2 separate regions of the Homo sapiens genome follow, and region 1 is linked to region 2. The links are contacts of gene promoters, found by promoter capture Hi-C in blood cells and fetal thymus (Javierre and others, 2016). All regions are on one chromosome and are shown on one strand. The core of a region is centred on a gene start or on the middle of the fragment in contact, and the rest is flanking DNA. Distances in the headings are between cores, read along the strand shown. Region 1 holds the start of TMPRSS11E (transmembrane serine protease 11E). Region 2 holds the start of CENPC (centromere protein C).

What was found. Contacts are between HindIII fragments. The CHiCAGO score rates a contact against its expected background, and 5 or more counts as called.
Region 1: the fragment with the promoter of TMPRSS11E here is called in contact with the fragment with the promoter of CENPC in region 2 in 4 of 17 cell types (non-activated CD4 T cells, total CD4 T cells, total CD8 T cells and 1 more); the score reaches 7.7 in non-activated CD4 T cells.

What each region holds. Positions count from the first base shown.
Region 1 is chr4:68,445,784-68,449,241 of GRCh38, forward strand. TMPRSS11E (transmembrane serine protease 11E) reads left to right here and starts at 1,680. Exons shown (of 10, transcript NM_014058.4): 1 at 1,680-1,740. The coding sequence starts at 1,730. The HindIII fragment of the contact is 3,931 bases long and covers 1-2,751 here.
Region 2 is chr4:67,543,355-67,547,035 of GRCh38, forward strand. It overlaps CENPC (centromere protein C), which reads right to left and starts at 2,149. Exons shown (of 19, transcript NM_001812.4): 1 at 1,984-2,149; 2 at 795-841. The coding sequence starts at 2,001. RefSeq lists enhancers at 1,904-2,143, 1,921-2,471 and a silencer at 2,294-2,433. The HindIII fragment of the contact is 5,245 bases long and covers 1,038-3,681 here.

The DNA.
Region 1 (3,458 bases), core at 430-2,929, 900 kb after region 2:
ACAGAGTTTTAAAAAAATTCATGATAGCCCTCTCATTTTCTGTATCTACAATTCTAGGTTATATATTACCCTAAGTATACAGGTCCATAGGCCTATATAAAGAATTTATTTGAATTTGAAATCTTGATTTTGTGAAAGAAACAAATGTCTTGAGATTTTGTTAAAATAAGTCTGGCAAGTCTTGGCCCAAAGTTACACTGAGAGGGAATCTGTTTTCCTTTGAAAACAAAAGTATTATCAATATTTTCATAAAATGTGAGTATAAAATAGAACATAGTATTATTAAACCATATTAACATTTCATTGGCAGAGATTTCACTTTGTTAAAGGCTGTATAAGAACAGCTTAATCTCATAACCCAGAAGTTTTTACTGTTATTATTGCCTCTTTATTTTTGGCTAAAGTGTAATTTTTAAATGAGTATACAGAAACCTAATACTATATATTGAATGACTTTAAGTAAATAAATATCCATGCTATTCATCAGGATAAGTGACCTAGTGACCAGAATAAAAAGGATATATGTTGGTAGCCCCTAGCACAGTATGCCTCAGCACAGAGGTTTCTTGGGTTACTGCTAGTGAATGATTCCAATTCTTGGCCGTCTGATCCCACACATTACATAAATTCCAACTCCTGCATCTGTTTAGGTGAGCTGTTGGCTAAATGGATATGTAATGAAATTAAACAATATTTTTAAGGTGCTTTTTAGGATGGGTTATACCCCCTCTTTTTCTCCTCCTTTCCTTGCAACCTGCCCTCTACTCATTCTTTTTATGCATATTTTTGAGAGCCTGAATATGCTAGGAAGAGGGTTTCAGTCTGTTAAGAATTCACAACCTTGTGGAGTTGAGATACAATTAATAAAATTTCTAGTATAATGAGGTAAGTATTATGATACCATGAAAGCACAGAGGAGAAACACCTACTCTGTTTTGTAAGGATTAGGGAAAGCAATTTAGAGATTATACCTAACACAAACACACAGATATTTGCATAGTATGTGAGCACACGTTTAAAAAAATGTAATTTTCACCCTAGAAATAAGACAGTAGTGATTCAGCGTGAGTTGATATGCCTGTCTCCACTATAATGAAAGAAATATAACGTCTTAAGTATGGGTTGACATTTGCAAACTAACTGATTTTTCTAGAAGAATGATGCCACATAATTTAAAAATATTAATGCTTTTCTAATCTCTAGTGTATTTTCAATGGCTAACATAGTTAAAACCAAAGTGAAATTTTTATTATGTACATAATCGAATGCAAATTGTGTCAGGCTAGTTTAAAAAATATGAATGTCAGTCCTGGCTTGGCAATTTAATAACTATTTGGTTTTTGACCAAGTCATTTAACTTAATTAAACCTCAGTTTCTTCTCTGTAAACAAGAGAAGGTCAAGCAAGATAGTTTTAAAATTTCTTTCCAAATTTATACGTCTGACTTTTCTAAAAAATCTGGTTTACACTAATACTTAAAAGAAATTATCTTAAAACAATAAATTATAAATTTATTTTTTGCTCTTGCTCCCTGTAAAATTTGTCCTTGTCCTGCTAGTCACATATAGTCCCCACTACACCAGCCAAGACTTGTCAGACTGGTTCTGTTGAGATCATCAGTGACTTATTTCCTCACTTCAATTCAGCCCACAAAGTCATTGATAGAGCTGGATTCACACACTTGGATGTAGACCTCGACCTTCACAGGACTCTTCATTGCTGGTTGGCAATGATGTATCGGTGAGTTAGTTCCCTTTTTCTTTCTAGAAGTCTTAAGGTAACTTTTAGTTTAAAACAGTATGAGCCACACCAAGGAATGTGTAGATCTACAGTTTATTATTTTTTTAAATATAGAAACATATTTTTGAGATTTTACATAAAATTATGTCAAGAAAAAGATTTCTATTCTTTCTGTATTAGTGTTTCCTGTCCTCTTTTGTTGTATCCCATGTGTTTTTCTGTTTACTTTTAGAAGGTTTCTACACAATGTAAAGGTACATGGTGTTTGACAGCTGTCTTTTAGTTAGTTTGGCCATATGTTTCAAGAAAGATATAACATATTTTTAGCTTGGGCTTTGTTTGTCTTATTGAGAAACACTTTTATTTTAGAAGGTGTACATGAAAAAAAGTCTGAAATAATGCAGAAAAAAATGTTTATTTCTGTAAGTAGTTAAAAATTTAAAAACTCTAGATGTTTTGAAAGAATCAGAAACAACTGAAGAAAATAATATGACTAAATTATTATAGCCTGATTTAAAAAATAAATCCACTGATATGCCTGGCCATAGTCAACTTCTCCAAAGATAAGTCATGATCATTTTGAGGTTTTCTTTCAAAGTTAGAAACTAATCAGTAACAAGGTTTTGGGGTACTAGTTTTGTCTTTGAAAATAATTTTATCTCCTGATTAAAATTTATTTTCTCTGATTCTCATATTGGCATATCATTTTTTATTAGTTTTTACTTTGAGAACAGTTTGAAAATGTTAAACTTTGAATGAAATCTGTGGTCTTCATTTAACATGGAAAAACAGGTTCTGTCATCAGTTGAAAGTTCTACATACTTGTTATTAGAAGTTTAATACTCTTCTGTACATATCCATGAAGCAACTAAAAGCTACGGATACTAAACATTTTGTTGGGCTTATCAAGGCTCCCTGCCTTTTGCAAGTATTTCTTTACAACCAATGATGGTTTTGTATCCTATTCTCTTTTTCTCATTGACTTTACTATAGAAAACAGTGCTTCAAGAAAGCTTCCAATAAACTTAACATACTAAATAGATTACAAGCCTTATCTATGGTATATGTCAGAGATTTGGAATTTGGTTATAAATGTGTAGAGGCGGTATAATGTGGGAATACTGGAGTGAATTTTTCTGAGTGTAGTCTCTAATTTGAAGCAAAAGATGTGACTATTTTTAAAAATCCTGCTGCAGAATAGATGCAAATAATCTCTCATGGAAAAAACCAAAAACCAAAACCAACCATCTAACAAACAAAAACGTCTTCCTGATCTGAAGATTGTATGAAAGATGAAGCACATCTATGTTTGAGTGGGTCTAGATGAGATAAAATGTTAAGAGCATGTACTAGAGCAAAAAAGGATTAAGTTTATTATTCACATTTGCTGTCGTAAATGTGCCAACAGGAGTGTTATCGAGGAAGAGGGATAATTGAAATCCTAGGATATAAGTAGACAATTTCTTCTTAAGGTCATTGGTTTTAACTCAGAAAGAATACAAGAAACAGGTGGGGAATTTTATTAAATAGCATGCTCCTTCCTTTTCAGTCAGATTTCGGATAGCCTTCTCCCTGACTCTACCTGAATAAGAATCAGTTTTTTTTTTTTTTTTTTAGAATTTAAGGGTAGGAAAAAATTTAAACTGGGTAAGCATTATTCTTCTTGTACTGCCATTTTCTCCAAACTCTTATTTTGGACTATTCTTTGAGCATGAAGA
Region 2 (3,681 bases), core at 899-3,398:
TGTTCAAGGTCCACCAAAGTTACACTACAACTTTAAAGCTTTTCTTAATATCAACAACACACAAATCCCTAATTTCTCACATGGCTGTCTATACTGCAAGTTAATGCCTAATTATATATAGGCCTACTCTCTATGATACACAAGTCATTACTTCAGTATTGCAAGTAATAATTTTTGTCCATTAAATTGTTTCACAAATGTACATATACATTTTCCCAACAGAAATCTAAGCTTCTTGTAAACAAAAGAACATACTTCTGTGCCCCATTGGACCTACTAAAATCACAGCTCAATAAACATGACGTTATTCATAATAACATCTTCACTTTTAAAAACATGCTTTTCATCCTATTACTAGTAAATATTTAACTAGAAAATTTACTTTTTACAGGTTTTACAACTAAAAGAAGAACCAAAACAACCCAAACAAGCACTCAACAAATGCACGACAGCATGTACTATTTTTCTTTTTGCCCCACTGAATAAGCTACATCTTTCTAATTTTACCATTTGATTCATTCTACAAAATGCTTTTCCCATGGCAGTCACTTAGTCAGAACTGAGACTCCCTCTTCCTGGTTCCACTATTTTATCAGGTGAATTTCTTTTTTCACAGCCACAAAGTCATTGCACTGCTTGCATTAACATTCCCGTTAGTATAAGATGACTACCCTTAATCAGTGGGCACAGAAATCATTATATTAGTCAGAGGTGATAGTTTTTCCTTTCTTCATTTAAAAATCTATTAACGATGAGAATAAAAATAATCTTAAAAGCTTAAGTACGTAAATCACCTGGAAGGTCGACAAAATCTTCTTCTGTAGCCATTTTTGAGATGATCCTGAAAGAAAAGTAAATCATCAATTTGGTTTCTTTAAGATAGAGTCGAGTAAAATTTATTTTCAAAGTAACTTCATCCAGTATGGGCATGCTATACACCAAACATCTCCTAAGGGCTCAAAACAATTTTGAGGTTATGTTATGACATAACATAGGTTATGACAGGCATTTAAAAACTGAACTGCAGGCATCTGGTAAGCTTTATTCCGCTTCTCTCCCCACAGTGAGAATGGCTTTATTGCTTTCTTCTGATTATATATAATGTAAACAATATATGTGCTCATAGTAAAAAGTATAGATTATATTATTCTTTCATACAACTCTTTATGTTTATATGTATAACGTCACATAATGGGAGATCATCGAAGCTGAAGATTTTCTTAGAAGGGGAGATAAATTAGAAAAGAAATGATACGGATTTTTATATAGTAACCATAACCAAAGTATGAAATATAGAATAGTGAACACCAAAGAAGTCCAGAAATATGTAAACAAAATGAGTTGTCGCCCCCATTAGTCATTCACAGCTTGTACCTTTTAACTGATAGCTGTCTTTCAGAAGAGTTTGTCAATAACATATGCTCCATAAATCAGCCTCAAGAACTGCATAAAAGGCCACCATTTTGACAGAAGAACTGAAAACGTCAAATTATTTCGAGACGTACTTGTTACATAATCTGTTTCTCCCAACTACCAAGTGTGACGCAAAGACACACTTTTAAGGCGTTTCAATACTTCTACCATGGGGAGAAAAGTTATTTGGAGGCCTAGGAACTGGAGCTAGACTAAAAAGCAGAAGCCAAGATCGCGCCACTGCACTCCAGCCTGGGGGACAGAGCAAGACCCCGTCTCAAAAACAAAAACAAAAAAAAACCCAGCAGAAATCACAAGCACCTCTCAAGAGTAAGACGTAGGCACAGACGAAATGACGACATGAAAACTTAAGAAATAATAAAAGTACAGTAAATTAACTCTGGTTATCGACACACGATCACACTTGATTTCAAAAATTCCTGCGGCTTTCCCACTGAAATCCCTCAGAGATCACAGCCTCAGCCTAGCATTTCCTTCTCCCCAGCCTCGGGCGCCCGTGCCCCAGCCAGCCGCTCAACCACTCGCCTGGAGCGGGGGGCCTGCACTTACCAGACCGGACGCAGCCATGTTCCGGCCCCGCTGAGCCAGCGCAACTGTCTGAGGTGGAAGCCCACACGGACCACAGCTCCAGGAAGCCGAGCAAGAAACGAATCGCCGGAATACCAGGCCGCGGCCAAGCAATAACCTTAAGTCTCAGGCGACTGCCGCGAGAGCTGCGATCCGGAAGGCGCGCGCTAACAACACTCCCCCGCCATTGGCTCCGCCCTCAACAAACAAGAACGCTTGGCCTGTGCCTGGGTTTGAACCCGGAGACACATGCGCAAAACGGGCCGCGCCGTCCAATAGGAAGCAAGCCGTTAGTGGGCTCGCCCCTTCATGCTCCAGGCCAACGGCCCTCCAGCCTGCAGACCCACCCGCCCGCCCTACCTCTAGCCGCTCTGCTCTTCCCACCTCCCTTCCTCAGCGCCGCGCCCGGGACAGGCGCGAGACTGGGCTTTTATTAGGAAGGCACGATCCTGGGAACCGCTCCTTGTGCCCAATGTAAAACTTCTCAACAGTTCTATTAAGGAATAATAAGTAATACTTGGAAGGATGAGAGGTAGAAATTGCAGACGACTTTTTTTTTAATAGAATCTTTTTTTGAAGAGATTTTTCTAATGCAGATTCGTCAGCCACGCCCAGCCCATCTAACCATCATCTCTGAAAATAATTGAATAATTATGTATAATAATGGTGATGATGGCTTGTATTCTTTTTCAAGTATGTGGGCGATATTTTTATGATGCATTGCCAACAAATGACCCACGTAAATATCTATCATTTAAGTATGATGCACTGAAAAGAATTCTATACAGAATCCTGAAACCTGCCAGCCATTGACTAGCTATGTTATGGAGGGCAAAATTGCGGCACCATTCTGGGTGTTTCCATAGTGATAGAATGGAAGTCTAAATTAGACGCTCTGAAGACTTCTCACCTGACCAGTGTATGATTCTATGAAGCTGTATCTTATTTTATTATTTAATTTAAAATTACAAGAAAATTCTAATCAGAAAATAGTTTACTAATTGAATAAATACATTAATCAGGAGTTGAGCTAATAGATTTTTAAAACATGTAGTGCTTTAACAAATGCTGTCAACTATGAAGGCCAATTTTTTTATTTTATTTATTTTTTTGATAGAAAAAAAGGAACTATGATCTCTGACTGAAATTAGGCCTGGATTGCACTCCATTCCATTAATTCTGCCATTATGGGCAACTAAGTTATCTGTTCCTTAATTCTCTTGTCTGCAAAATGAGAATACTATTAAAGTGGTTGAGATGTTGTAATTGAATAATTCCTGTTAAGATCTAAGCACAATGTTTGGAACATAGTAAGAATTCAATAATAAAGCTATTGGAATCATTATGGAGAGTTTTTTACTATGTTTGGCAGTTTTGCCAATCAGTCCAACTTATAATTTGGTGCTGTCACATTTGGAATAGATAATGATAAACACTAACATTTATTGACTGCATACTCTATGCCCAGTTCTGAAATGCTTTGCATGCATTGAAGAGAACAATTAATATTCCTGTTTTATAAACAAGGGCACTGAAACACAGAGAGCTAAGTGTCTTACCCAAGATCACATCACCACTAAATGGTAGGATGGGTTATTATCCCAAGAATTCTCACTCCACAACTGAGCTCTTAATCACTACACTCTTTGCCTCTGGGTAAGAAATTTTAGCAAGCACGAT